Linked DNA regions of Homo sapiens: regions 2 and 3 are each linked to region 1. The links are contacts of gene promoters, found by promoter capture Hi-C in blood cells and fetal thymus (Javierre and others, 2016). All regions are on one chromosome and are shown on one strand. Each heading gives the region's core, a stretch centred on a gene start or on the middle of the fragment in contact. The rest is flanking DNA. Distances are from core to core; before and after follow the strand shown.

Region 1 (4,756 bases), core at 740-3,239:
CCACAGCCCACTGAGCCATGCGCAGCACCCTGGGACTACAGAACCACAGGGTCACTTTTTCTCTTTTCCTTGCAAAAAAGCAATGCCACTATCTCCACTATAATGCATTCCCTATGTCTTATTCCTCTCATTATGCTTGAAAGTAGTGTTATATAACAGGCAATATTTATGAGTTGCATATCATCATATGCAAAGCAAAAACTGGAAGATGCTAGCTCAGGAGGATGTAGTATGCCTTTCAGGAAAGCTGTCAGATTCATCCACTGGAACAGAAGCCTCGCCCTGCAGGGATTTTTGTCAGCTTTGCTCACTGCTGTCTCCTCAGCAATACGAAAAACAGTTCCTGGTACGTGGTAGGTACTTAGGAAAAACCTGATGATGAATGGAAGCCTGCATACAAGTGTGACTTTTCTGAAAGTCTGATCTCATAAAAATACAGTTCTGAAAACACAAGGTAAGAGCTCAAAGGCACAACCTTTCCATGCAGACTGTCCATTCGTAGGGAGATGGGAGGAAAGCAGACCCTTTTTTTTGTTTCTGCTGACCTTGGACAGCTGTGCTGCCGTGTTACCTCTGGTCCCCAGAAAAACCATGGCCATAGCAGATGAAATGCTGAAGGGAGAGATGAAGATGTTTCCAGCCGGATTGTTCTCACTCAACGCCAGGAACAGGTCCAAGGCGAAGCGGGTGTTTGCTGAGCTCAGCTGCTCCATGGTGAAAACTGCAACACAGAACAGGGTCCTCATGGTGCCCACTGCCCACGCCAGCAGATTAGGCAGCACTATTTCTCCAGAAGCTTCCTCAATTTCTGCCAACCGCCCTGAGGCATCCTGGATCTTGTACTTTCTCCCCGCTTTTTTATTCCAGCAGGGCAAGAACACTTTCCCAGGCCCACAAATGTGGGACCATTCTGGCCAAGGACTCAGCAGTTATAGGGGATTTTAGGGCACCCAGGGTGCCCTAAAGGGCTCTGACCTTGCAGACAGGTGAGTCTGGGGGTGGGGCGGGGGTAAGGCAGGCCCCAGCTACCCCAGCTTTAGTGGGGTGGGAGGGCCCACCCAGCCCTGGGTCTTCCCAACCTATGTGTGGGAGCGCACGTGCTTCTGAGCCTTTGATTCAAGTCTCTGATTCATTGGGCAATGAATCCATTGCCTACCTTCACCTGAACTAAGAGCCTTCTATCAGAGACTCAGCTACCTACTATGCATTAAAACTCCAGCAAAGGTATCACTGTAATTATTATAATAATATAATTCTTCCTTATTTTTGAGGTTCAAAAGGTATGAGGTCCAGTGCCCACAGTCTCAGAGCCGGTGTAGGATGTGCCAGTTTGGAAACCCACCACAGTCCAGGGTCTGGCCGTGCAGCGTCCCATCCGCCACCCACTAGCCCATCTCGATCTCCACTCTCAGAGCCCTGATTTCCCCCGAGGACAGGCAAAGAAGAACCGTGCTGGCTGCTCGGCATGTAAGCACAAAGCTGATTTCTCCTTGTTGTGAAATCGTCTCTAGAATCGCACGGGGTTCCTCCTCTCTCTCCCTGCAGCTGCAGATAGGAGCCGCGGCCTGGCCCTGGGCTGCCTGGAAACCGTCACAAACAGCTCTGGGAGGAAGGGAATTCAGGGAGAAGGGACAACATTCTGATCTCAGGTTTCAGTCTTGCCTTCCGCCTGCATCTGTCGTCCTCCCTCCCTCCCTCCCTCGCGGGCTGGCCCGGCCTGTACCCAGGCGGGGGCGGGGGATCAGAGGTCGTCTGTCTCCGTCGGGGCGCCCGGAAGGGATGGGGGCGCGAAGCTGGCGGGGAGGGCGAGCGCAGGGAGCTGCGGGTCTGAGGGGCCTGAGCCTGGGGGGTGGGGGGTGCCGGGCTGGAAGCTGAGCGAGGGAGCCTGGCCTCTCCCCGCGCCCGCCCCCGCGCCACCGCTCCGAGGCCCGGCCTTACCCGACAGGCCGCCGAGGCACGCTCCGGGCTCCGAGCTGGGTGCGAGGTCAGGAAGGAGGCACCGAGGGCCGCTGCTCTTATAGCAGGCGGAAGCGTCACCCGGGCCAGCAGCCGCGGGCGGGGCGGCGGCCCTTCCCGGTGACTGCGTAGGAGTCCGAGCTCCCGAGGTCGCCTAAGTGCAAGCAGAAGTGAGCGTGGCTTCCGGGCAGCGCCCTCCTCAGGGGCGCGGCTTCTTTCTCAGTTCAAAGCCTTTCCCCGAATCTCTGGCAAGGACCTGAAAAGCTTTTTCTTACTAAGGTGTGAATGACTGAGACGACATATTGTGACACCTCTTAGAGGGCAAATGACTCCCTTTGAGTCCCATCTATATTGGGAGCTTTCTTTGAGAGAAGGAAGCAAATTTGGGGATCTTGCACAGGGAAAAAGAGGGGCCCCCAGAATCAGATGAAACAGAACCAGTTCCAAACACCTGCTCTCTGTTTCCAAGATGACAGCTTGCTGCTGCGTCCTCAATGGTGGAAAGTGGAAGGGCAAAAGGGGCCAAATCTCATGTGAAGTCTCTCGTATAAGGGGCCAATCCCATTCATGAGGAAGGTGCCCTCATAATCCAGTCACCTCCTAAAGGCACCACCTGTTAGTATTGCATTGAGGATTGTTTCAGCATGAATTTTGCAGGGAACACAGACATTCAAAGCATAGCATTCTGCCCCTGCCCTCCAAATTCATACCCCTCTCACATGCAAAATGCATGCATTGTATCCCAGTGGCCTCCAAAGTTCCAGTATCAACTTTAAAATGTAAGTCCAAAGTCTCACCTAAATATCTTCTAAATTAGAAAGGCATAAGATTCAAAGTACAATTCATCCTAAGTGAAATTCCCCTCCAGCTATGAGCCCGTGAAATCAAATAGGTTACAGGCCTTCAAAATACAGTGATGAGACAGGCATAGGACGTACATTCCCATTCCCAAAGGGAGAAGCAGGCAAGAAGAAAGGAGTATCTGGTCCCAAGTAAGTCCAAACCCAACAAGGCAAACAGCATTAAATCTTGGGGCTTCAGAATAATCTTCTTTGATGCTGTGTCCCCCATTCCGAGCACAGGGGGGTGGAGACTGGGTCCCCTAGTGTCCAGGGGATCCACTCCCATGGATTTGCCAGGTGCAACCCATGCAGCAGCTCTCACAGGTTGAGGTCTAGGCTCTCCCAGGATAGACTTGCATGCTGGTGGCTGGACAGTTCTGGGTTCTCAGGGACAGCCCTGTTCCCACAGCTCCACTAGATATTACTCTATTTGGGGCTCTCTGCAGTGGCCCCAATCCCACTGCTCCACTAAACATTGCCCTAGTGAGGGTTTTCTGCAGCAGCCTCACCTCAGTGACAATTCTCAGACTGGGCCCCCAGGGTCCCCAACACATCCTTCAAAATCTAGGTGGAGGTGGCTGTGTCTCCACAGTTCATGCACTCTGTGCACCTGCAGAGTTAGCATCACGTGGACTCTGCCAAGGCTTACAGGAAGGGTGGCCTGACAAGGGCCTGCATAAGCCACACGTGGGATGGTGGCCAAAGAGTGCTGCACCAGAATGTGGGGGGTGGGGGGGCAGAGACTTGAGGCAGCCCTAGGCAGCAAGCCCCAAGGTTCCATGGTGTCCTGAGTCCTCCCTTAAAACTATTCTGCCCTCAGGGTCCTGGCACTCTGGGACAGGGATGAGAATCCAGAACCAGTAACCTCAGAAATGCCTTTGGGTTCATTCTTCCATTGTCTTGATAAATAGCATCTGGCTTCCTTCTACACATACTCATCTCATTATCAAATGTGAACCTGGCAGCACTCTTGGTGTTCCCTCCCAAACATGCCTTTTCATTCTTTACATGGCCAGGCTGAGAATTTTCCAAAACTTTAAGCTCTGCTTCCCTCTTGATTATAAACTTCGTTTTTAATTCATTCTCTCTGCTCACATTTTACTACAAGCAGTCAAGAGAAGCCATGCTGCACTCTCAACGCTTTGCTCAGAGATTTCTTCCATCAAATATCCTAGTTTATTGCCTTTAAGTTCTGCCATTCAGAAAACACTAGGACATAGACACAATTCAGCCAAGTTCATTGCCACTGTGTAACAAGGATGACCTTTCCTCCAGTTTCCTTTTAAGATCTCATCAAAAGTGTCTTTACCATCTATACTTCTAACCGCATTCTGATCAAGACCAGACCACTTAATTAATCTCTAAGATGATTTAGGCTCTCCCTACAGCTCTCCTTGTCTTCTGAGCCCTCACCCTTAATTTCCCTTAAAGCTCTGTTTATGTCTATACAGGCTTTTTCCAGCATGCATCTCCAAATTCTTCCAGCCTCTACCCATTACTCAGTTTCAAAGCTGTTTCCACATATTTAGGTATTAGTTATAGCAACATCCCATTCTCAGTATCAATTTCTGTCATAGTCCATTTGTGCTGCTATAAATACCTGTGATTGGGCAATTTATTAAAAACAGAAATGTATTGCTCACAGTTCTGGAGGCTGGGAAGTCCAAGAATAAGGCATCCACATATTTGGTGCCTGGTGTGGGCTGCTCTCTGCTTCCAAAATGGCACCTTGTTGCTGCATCCAAGGGGGAAATATACTGTATCTTCACGTGGCGGTGGGAGGGATGGAAAGGGATGAACGCACTCCCTCAAGGGCCCAAATCCCACCCATGACGGTTCTGCCCTCATGACTTAAGCACTTCTTAAGGCTCTACCTCTTAATACTATCACATTGGTGATAAAGTTTCAACATATGAATTTTGGGGAGACACATTCAGCCCATAAAACATCTGTTCTGT
Region 2 (4,756 bases), core at 1,483-3,982, 200 kb after region 1:
TACCTTATCTACACAGTCCCTGTGCAGGGTTCCTAACCTGTGATAACTAAAGAATGTCACTTTCTAACAGGCCCAGGAGCCCCAAGTTATCTTGGGACCTCAAGAGGAAAAGAATTTACCCAACTCTTACAGGTATTTAATGGCACAAACCCATAACTGGCCTTAAGGCATTAAATTCAAATCTGAGATTCTCTATGGAATAAAGTTTCAGCAAAACCAAATTTAAAAAGTAGAAGAGTCTATATGCAAAATAATTATTCTTGCTAACTTTATGCAAATACTCAAGCCAAGTTTAATAAGGCTAAAACTTATTTTACCAATAGATTTGTTCTATTATAATTTGTTCTTAGTAAACTGGAAAGAAAAATTATGTTTCAGAAAAGCTGTAGTACATCTGTCATCAAATTCTAGTCTTGTTCACTGCTTTAAAGTTTTTTATTATTTTCCACAATTTTAACTAAATCCTGAATTCTTTCTGGGCTATAAGTTCCCAATGCATTCAACATTTTTTTCCTTTTATTTTTCTAATTTAAACTCAATGGAGTTCGCCCGGGCGCGGTGGCTCACGCCTGTAATCCCAGCACTTTGGGAGGCCGAGGCGGGTGGATCACGAGGTCAGGAGATCGAGACCACGGTGAAACCCCGTCTCTACTAAAAATACAAAAAAAATTAGCCGGGCGCAGTGGCGGGCGCTTGTAGTCACAGCTACTCAGGAGGCTGAGGCAGAAGAATGGCGTGAACCCGGGAGGCAGAGCTTGCAGTGAGCCGAGATCGCACCACTGCACTCCAGCCTGGGTGACAGAGCAAGACTCCGTCTCAAAAAAAAAAAAAAAGAAAAGAAAAAAATAAACTCAATGGAGTTGCTATTACCTCTTTCCTAAGGTCCTGCAAACTAAAGTCCATTCTTTAAAATACAAGCAAAGAAAGAAAAGGGTCAGATTGCCACTGCCTTCCTCCTCTATAACTAAAAATGCTTTAACATCTGGATAAATTGTGCCCAATGTTAATCTTTGTTTTTTTTTTTTTCTGTTTCCATAAAAATGCCTCATTAAAAATTTGTTTGTCTTCATCATATGCAGAGGCTTGTAAGGCACACCTCTACATCACAAACTCCAAGGGGTCTGGCCTTGTCCTAGGGGCTTTAATTCGAGCCCATTGCAATTACACCCTCAATTATAACCAAACACACCAGGAATGGGAGACAAGTTCACTGTTTACCTCCACAGGTTTTTTCTGTGGTGGGGAAACAATAAAGTTAATGCCAGCAAAATGTGTAGTAATTCTTTCATGCCTATAAATAGTTCAGCAACTGGAATGGAATATGTAGAAATAAAGGTCAAAAGTAAACTAACTCCTCACTAGTACATCTACAAACTTTTCCTTGATTTTCTCTTATTGAATTAACATTTAGAAATCTTATCTCTCAGGCCCCACTTCTGTCACCTATAATAATGCTTATATTAGCTTATTCGCATTACGTATTATTAATGCAATATCTTGTTTTGTGTCTTCTAACACAACAATTTCAAATTTTGTGAACACAACCATTTCAAACTAAAATGTCACTGCAGTGAAGGTATCAGCCACTAAAAGAACTCCATGACTCTCCTTTGGATACAGCAGGACAAAATTTTAGGCTACAAATGCTGCCCCCAACCCCATGGTTACACAATGACTCTGCCCAATTAACTCCCAAGCCAAGGATTTAGGCCTTTGTAATTTCCTGACAGAGTAACAGGATTAGGTAGGGCCGGTTCGGTGCCCCTGGTCAGCAGGAAGCAGTTGGAAGATGAGATCTTTGTCCACATACCAAAGATTTGTTATTGTTGCTCTGTTAGTGGGGAAATGTGGAGCCCTAACTAGGGAAAGGGAGTCAAGCTTGCAGGACCAAGGGAAAGCAAAAAGAGAAAGCAGATAAGCTACAAGTCTGCCTTTCTCATGGTCTGGGATACATAGCCCTCCTGTGCAAATAATTCAGTCTTCCTGCACCTAGCTATCACAGAACACCTGCAAGTTAACTCACTGCAATCTTGGTATTATCAGTACTACACAAAGCCCTCTTCAGCATAAGCACTGCCCTACAAAATCTCCACAAGTCTTTGTTTCTTTGCAGTCAGCTTCTGCTGACTTGTCCATTGTCTCTCTGGCAATGTATTTTCCTACTTTCTCTAATAAATCTGCCTTTCTTTATCAACAACTCTCTTGGTAAATTATTATTATTTTTTTGTGAGATGGAGTTTTGCTGTTGTTGCCCAGGCTGGAGTGCAATGGTGCAATCTCGGCTCACTGCAACCTCTGCCTCCTGCGTTCAAGTGATTCTCCTGCCTCAGCCTCCCGAGTAGCTGAGATTATAGGCGTGCGTCACCACGCCTGGCTAATTTTGTATTTTTAGTAGAGATGGGGTTTCTTCATGTTGGTCAGGCTGGTCTTGAACTCCCGACCTCAGGTTATCTGCCCGCCTCGGCCTCCCAAAGTGCCGGGATTACAGGCGTGAACCACTGCGCCTGGCCTGTCTTGGTAAATTCTTATACACCCCACACCACTGTCCTAGATAGTTGTTGCTCCCCGCAACAAATACCGTGAGTATCTCTATGCACATACACTTTAGACGAGATGAACCAATTCCTAGAAAACTACAAACTGCTAAAACACGCCCAAGATGAAATAGACATAATAAAATAATCCTATGACTATTGAAGAAATCAAATGTATAGTTAAAAGCCTTCTAAAAAGAAATCTCCAGGCCCATATGATTTTACTGATGAATTCTACCAACTATTTAAATGAGAAGAAAACATCAATCCTATACAATCTCTTCCAGAAAATAGAAAAGGGACACTTTCCAACTCATTTTATGAGGCTTTTATTACTATTATAACAAAAACAAATACAAAAAAGAAAATTATAGACCACTGTACCTATATCATTATGTGTTTTTGAATACAAAGAAATCCTCAACAAAACATTTGCAAATCAGCAATGTATAAACAGAATAGTACAGCATGGCATAATGGTATTTATTATATGAGCAATGTATGAAAAGAATAGTATAGGCCAGACACAGTGGCTCATGCTGGTAATCTCGGCACCTTGGGAGGCTGAGGAGGGTGGATCACTTAAGGCCAGGAGTTCAAAACTAGCCTGGCCAACATGGCGAAACCCCGTCTCTATTAAAAATACAAAAATTAGCCAGACGTGGTGGCGCATGCCTGTAATTCCAGCTACTCAGAAGGCTGAGGCAGGAGAATCGCTTGAGCCCGGGAGGCAGAGGTTGCAGTGGGCTGAGATCGCACCACCCCACTCCAGCCTGGGCAACAAGAGTAACAAGAGTGAGGCTCTTTCAAAAAAAAAAAGAGTAGTACAGCATGACATAATGTTTATTATACTAGCAATGTATACAAAGAATAGCACAGCAAGACATAATAATGTTTATTCCGGGAATGCAAGTAAGGTTCAATATTTGGATATCAACCAATGTAATCCACCATAGACTAGAAAAAAACCCACATGATCCTATTAATTAATGCAGAAAAAGCACTTGACCAAACTTAATGTTGTCCATTCATGGGGGAAAAGGAACCTCTTAGCAAGCTTGGAATAGAAAAAAAAGTCTTTTTTTTTTTTTTTTTTTTTGAGACAGAGTCTTGCTCTGTAGAGAAGGGGTTTCACCATTTTGGCCGGCTGGTCTTGAACTCCTGACCTCAGGTGATCCACCCGCCTCAACCTCCCAAAGTGCTGGGATTACAGGTGAGAACCACCATGTTGGGCCGAAAAAAAATGTTTTTAATTTGACAATAGACAACTAAATATCTACAGCTATCATTATGCTATTCTCATAAAATTAAGAATAGGCCAGGATGTCCATTCTCACCTAGTCAGTGCAATGAAAAGGAAAATTTACAAAAAGGCACACAAATTGGAAAGTAGGCAATAAAACTATCCCTATTTGCAGATTATATGGTTGTATATGTAGAAAATTTCAAGGAATATACAAAAGAAAAAACAAAACAAGGCTAGGCACGGTGGCTCACACCTGTAATCCCAGCATTTTGGGAGGCCTAGGTGGGTGGATCACCTGAGGTCAGGAGTTCGAGACCAGCCTGGCCAACATGGTGAAACCCCATCTCTACCAAAAATACAAAAATTAGCCCGGCGTGGTGGAGGGCGCCAGTAACCCCAGCTACTCAGGAGGCTGAGGCAAGAGAATAGCTTGAACCCAGAAGGCGGAGGTTGCAGTGAGCCAAGACTGCACCACTGCACTCCAGCCTGCGCAACAAGAGCAAAACTCAGTCTCAAAAAAAAAAAAAAAAAAAGAAAAGAAAAGAAAAGAAAAAAACCTTCTAGAACTAATAAGATGATATAGCAAGATACAAGGTCAATGTGTAAAGGTAAATTGTCTTTTTATATACCAGTAATGTAAAATTGGAACCCAAAATTAAAACAATAAAATTCACAGTAGATCCTCAAATAAAATAATCTCACAAAACATGTACATGCTCTCTATGCTGAAAACTAAAAATAGCTGATAAAAGACACCAAAGAAGGTCTAAATAAATGGAGAAAGACACCATGTTCATGAATTAGAAAAATCAATATTAAAAAGATGACAATCTTCCCAAATTTATATATACACTTAATACATTTGCAGTCAAAATCCCAGGGAATTTTTGGGAGACATAGACAGGTTGATTCAAAAAATTTATACAGAAAAGCAAAGAAGCTAGAATAGTTAGAACAATTTTGAAAAAGAAGAATA
Region 3 (4,383 bases), core at 497-2,996, 180 kb after region 1:
TCAAAAAAAAAAAAAAAAAATTAATGGCTGGGCACTGTGGGTCATGCCTGTAATCCCAGCAATTTGGGAGGCTGAGATGGGATAACTGCTTGAGGCCAGGAGTTCAAGACCAGCTTGGGCAACATAATGAGACCCATCTCTACAAAAAATTTAAAAATATACATTAGTTAGGCATGGTGGCACGCACCTGTAATTCCAGCTACTCAGGAGGCTGAAGCAAGAGGGTCACGTGAGTCCAGGAGTTCAAGGCTGCAATGAGCCATGACTGTGTCACTGCACTCCAGCCTGGATGACAGAGCAAGACTCTTTTTAAAAATAGCCAGGCGTGATGGCTCTCACCTGGAATCCCAGCATTTTTGGAGGCTAAGATGGGCAGATTGCTTGAGTTCAGCAGTTTGAGGCCAGCCTGGGCAACATGGCGAAACCCCAACCCTATAAAAAAAAAAAAAAATTAGCCAGGTGTGGTGGCACACATCTGCAGTCCCAGGTACTTGGGAGGCTGAGGTGAGAGAATCGCTCGAGCTGGGAGGCAGAGGTTGCAGTGAGCTGAGATCACACCACTGCACTCCAGCCTTGGGTGACGGAATGAGACCTGTCTCAAAAAACAAATAAATAAATAAAAATAATTTAAAAATCATTAATTGCCAGTTACAATGAAAATTTAAAACTTTTAAAAAATTTAGTCTGATGGCATTGTACCACTGTGCCGTGTTCACGTAACCCTACTAATAATCACCCTGACACACAGCCACATGCAGATGGAGGAACTTCCCTAAAAGCAAGTTTGAGGGATTAAATATCATCTTTGTCATCATATCCTCCTCTTTTCCCTTTTCCTCCTCCTCCTTGTCATCACTACTGAGGACAGCACTGCTGGCTGTGCCCAGGGGCCCTTCTTCCTCAACGCCCCCAGCACCACCCAAAGTCCCCCTCTGTGGAATCGGAGCACTGAGTGTGTTGGCCTCAGGGACACTGAAGGAAGCCGCCCGCCCGTCCTCTCAGCCTTGGAGTCTGTTCAACCATTATCATTCAAACCACCTTCCATCAAAGGTTTGAATACAATGAGCAGCTGCTCCTGCATTCCTCCAGGACACAGGTTCACCAGCTGGGTGTCTGTCAAAGACAATGAGCCTCCGAGTTGGTCCAAACTTGACTCTCCTTGAAGGTCTTCTCTGGCCATCCTCAAAATCCACAGGATGAAATGTGTTCGATGAGGACAACTCACTCGTGTCGCGGCGTTTGGATGGGCTGCGGCGTGGCCGCTTCTGCCGTAGAGACGGAGCCTTCCTGTGGTTCGCGCACTTCCTTCCTGAAGCCTCATATTTCCCATTCCGTTGATACTTGGCCACCTCAACCTGCAACGTGCAGTTTCCAGTGTCATCTTCATCCAAATGCATGAATGCAAGATCCACAGCTTCCCTCTTCCAATGATCGCACAGCCTGTCTCCTTTAAGATGTCCTTGGTTATCTCTGTAAAACTTGACCTTAAGTTCTTCTGTCTGGGGATCGCTCATAATAATGCCAAATGGACAGGCGTGTGAATGCCTCCACGGTAACGACCAGAGGCAAACCGGCACATACACGTTTGTATTTCTCCTTCTTCAGCATGAAGCCTTCCTTTTTCTCCCCTCTTTGTGGGATCAGTGGGTTTGGGGTTTTTCTTGGTGGCAGAGCAGCGCCGTCACCGAGCAGCCGTCGCTGGCCTGATATGCAGCGGTGAAGTCTTCACTGGTTTCTCTTCTGCTCCTGTGTGCTTGCAGAAACCGGGCTGGCTCTTGATTGGGATTGTAGGCTGCAGAGGCTGGGGAAGGGCAGACAGCCTCGGGAGACACGCCGGAAAGGGCGGCTCCCTCGTGCTCCTCAGTGACTCAGGGTTTTGGCCACATAGCTCCCCTCCTCCACCCTCGCTCAGCAGGCTGCATCCGGGGCGGGGCTGGCAGGCAAAGAGGCTGTGTCACAGCCCTTCAGAGCCTCAAGCTGGGGTCCCTAGGGTTTCTGGACCTCAGATCACTGTGAGGCAGGAGGTCCTCCACCCTCCCTCCGGCAACTCTGAAGTATGGGAAGGTGCGTTCTCGAACTGCCGAGGGGCCTGTTCCTGTGTGGGTTGAGAGGATGGGAAGTTGCTGAAATCCAACCTCTCTGAGAGCCGGTGCTGTCACCTTGGCCTGAGTATGCTGAAGACATTAATTCCGGTTCCCAAGCAAAACTGTTAGCAATTCGAGGGCTGGGCTCTTGCCTATGTCTCATCTCCTGTTAGTACCGGGCACCCTGATACATTTTCTGCCGGTTTTTAAGAATTTTTTTTTGAGACGGAGTTTCACTCTTGTTGCCCAGGCTGGAGTGCAATGGCGCGATCTCGGCTCACCTCGACTTCCACCTCCCTGGTTCAAGCGATTCTCCTGCCTCAGCCTCCCGAGTAGCTGGAATTACAGGCATGCGCCACCATGCCCGGCTAATTTTGTATTTTTAGTAGAGACAGGGTTTCTCCATGTTGGTCAGGCTGAACTCACCCGACCTCAGGTGATCTGCCTGCCTTGGCTTCCCAAAGTGCTGGGATTACAGGCATGAGCCACCGCGCCCGGCCGGTTTTTAAGATCTTATTGCTGAAAAACTTAAAATAAAAAATAAATTCAGTATCAGCAGGGCAGCAGGAATTGCCATTAAAAAAAAAAAAAGAAAATTGGAAATGACTGCAGCCAGGTGTGTGTGATTGGGCCCCGCGACCTTTTTCTTAGGCAAACAGGGCTTTGTGGATGCAGAAAGACTTCTTTGGTTGTGTAGTTTGTCTCAGAGCCTCTCGTGGGTGGAGCCTGGTAAAAAGAGGAAAGAGACTCATGTTGCTCAATGTGAGGAAGCACCAGGAATTTTGGAGAAGTTCCCAGCAGCTCAGGAGAGTGGCTGGTGCCTTGTCCCAGGGGAGAGGGAAATAAGCACAGGCCTATTTCTTTCTCAAGACGGAAAAACCGAGCCCCAGAAAATGGCGATAAGATGGGGATGCAGGAAAAAGCTAGCTAATGAACAGTTCAGCAGTGGGCACCGTGTGGGAACCTCTCCTAAGCCGCCCTCCCTCTGATGGATGCATGCTCAAGTGATTTCGTTGGCCCTTAAAGGAAAGTGTTATTCCATCCTGTAATCCTAGCACTTTAAAAGGAGGCCGAGGTGGGAGGATCACCTGAGGTCAGGAGTTCACGACCAGCCTGGCCAACATGGTGAAACCCCGTCTCTACTAAAAAATACAAAAATTGGCCGGGTGTGGTGGCATATGCCTATAGTCCCAGCTACTTGGGAGGCTGAGGCAGGAGAATCACTTGAACCCGGGAGGTGGAGGTTGCAGTGAGGTGAGATCGTGCCATTGCACTCCAGCCTGGCCACAGAGCGAGACTCCATCTCAAAAAAAAAAAAAAAAAAAGACATCTGCCCAAGGGTCATAGCTGTAGAGGGGCAGATGTGGTTTGAACCCAGGGCGTCTGGTTCCTCTCTGGAAGCAACCAAAGTGCCTGTGATTGGGGTAGTGACAAAGCACTCTGAGCCGCTGCATGGCAGATGCTGTGAAGAGTCATCTTTGCCTGTCCCATATCTATTCCCATTTTTTCTGATTGTAACACCTTGTTTTTTTGTGTGTGGTGGGGGAACCATGCCCTTTCAACCAAGCTATGTGGTGTTCATAAGGGTAGCCCCTCCTCCGACCCCAGGAGTGGCAGTTCACAGCCCTGACTGATCACAGTGTTCCGTGGCCTAGCTGTAACCACCCCAGGGAGTGAGACTGAACTCAGGGGTTCATTGGACCTATCAGGAAAGAGAGACCTTTCTTGTTTCTGGACTTGGAGCTGTGATGAAGTAAGTGGGTCAGGGGCCAACACATAGACAGCGTTGGCCTACAAATGCAGCCCAGGCAGAGGACGGTGCAGCCAAGCCACACAGAGAGACAACTTCCTAGTGACACGCTGTGAACTCCTGCATCCACCCCTGCCTGAACTGGAGCTTTTCCTCTTCAGCTCTTCAGTTATGTGAGGCAAGATGTTGCCTTTTTTGCTTAATGCTGTGAGTTGAGTGTACAGCAGTTACAATCAAAGAATCCTAAATAATGCTGCAAGCATGGTGACTATCTACATGGGAATATGCAGTACTCCAGTGAAGACAAAACATAAATTAATTTTGGAATCTGATGACCATAATCTAAAAACATTCATAGAGGTATATAAAAATTATAACAAAATTTAAAGTAGCATATCTCCTCATGAAGCAGGTTAAGTGTATACACAAAGAAGGAGGAGGAAAAGGTGAGAAAGAATCTGCCCTTGTGGGGAAGTGACAGAGGCAGAAGAGGCTGATGCAGTCCTGCATCCAGGCCCAGCTCTGCCAGCAGCTGAGTACCCCTGAACA

Evidence for each region. The method cuts DNA at HindIII sites, captures the fragments that hold promoters and counts their contacts. A CHiCAGO score of 5 or more calls a contact.
Region 2: a fragment that was not itself captured here is called in contact with the fragment with the promoter of SERPINB1 in region 1 in 5 of 17 cell types (activated CD4 T cells, naive CD4 T cells, total B cells and 2 more); the score reaches 6.7 in activated CD4 T cells.
Region 3: a contact is called between a fragment that was not itself captured here and the fragment with the promoter of SERPINB1 in region 1, in 12 of 17 cell types (activated CD4 T cells, total B cells, naive B cells and 9 more). The highest score is 8.3, in activated CD4 T cells.

Annotation. Positions count from the first base shown.
Region 1 is chr6:2,839,874-2,844,629 of GRCh38, forward strand. It overlaps SERPINB1 (serpin family B member 1), which reads right to left and starts at 1,990. Exons shown (of 7, transcript NM_030666.4): 1 at 1,939-1,990; 2 at 546-721. The coding sequence starts at 713. RefSeq lists a silencer at 1,885-1,934. The HindIII fragment of the contact is 1,424 bases long and covers 795-2,218 here.
Region 2 is chr6:3,040,067-3,044,822 of GRCh38, forward strand. No RefSeq gene overlaps it. Among named protein-coding and RNA genes, the nearest start is that of RIPK1, 26 kb to the right of the region's middle. The HindIII fragment of the contact is 1,713 bases long and covers 1,877-3,589 here.
Region 3 is chr6:3,022,110-3,026,492 of GRCh38, forward strand. It overlaps LOC101927759 (a long non-coding RNA gene), which reads left to right and starts at 1,954. Exons shown (of 3, transcript NR_152848.1): 1 at 1,954-2,064. It also overlaps the pseudogene HTATSF1P2. RefSeq lists enhancers at 1,128-2,327, 3,771-3,880 and a silencer at 3,366-3,660. The HindIII fragment of the contact is 6,369 bases long and covers 1-4,383 here.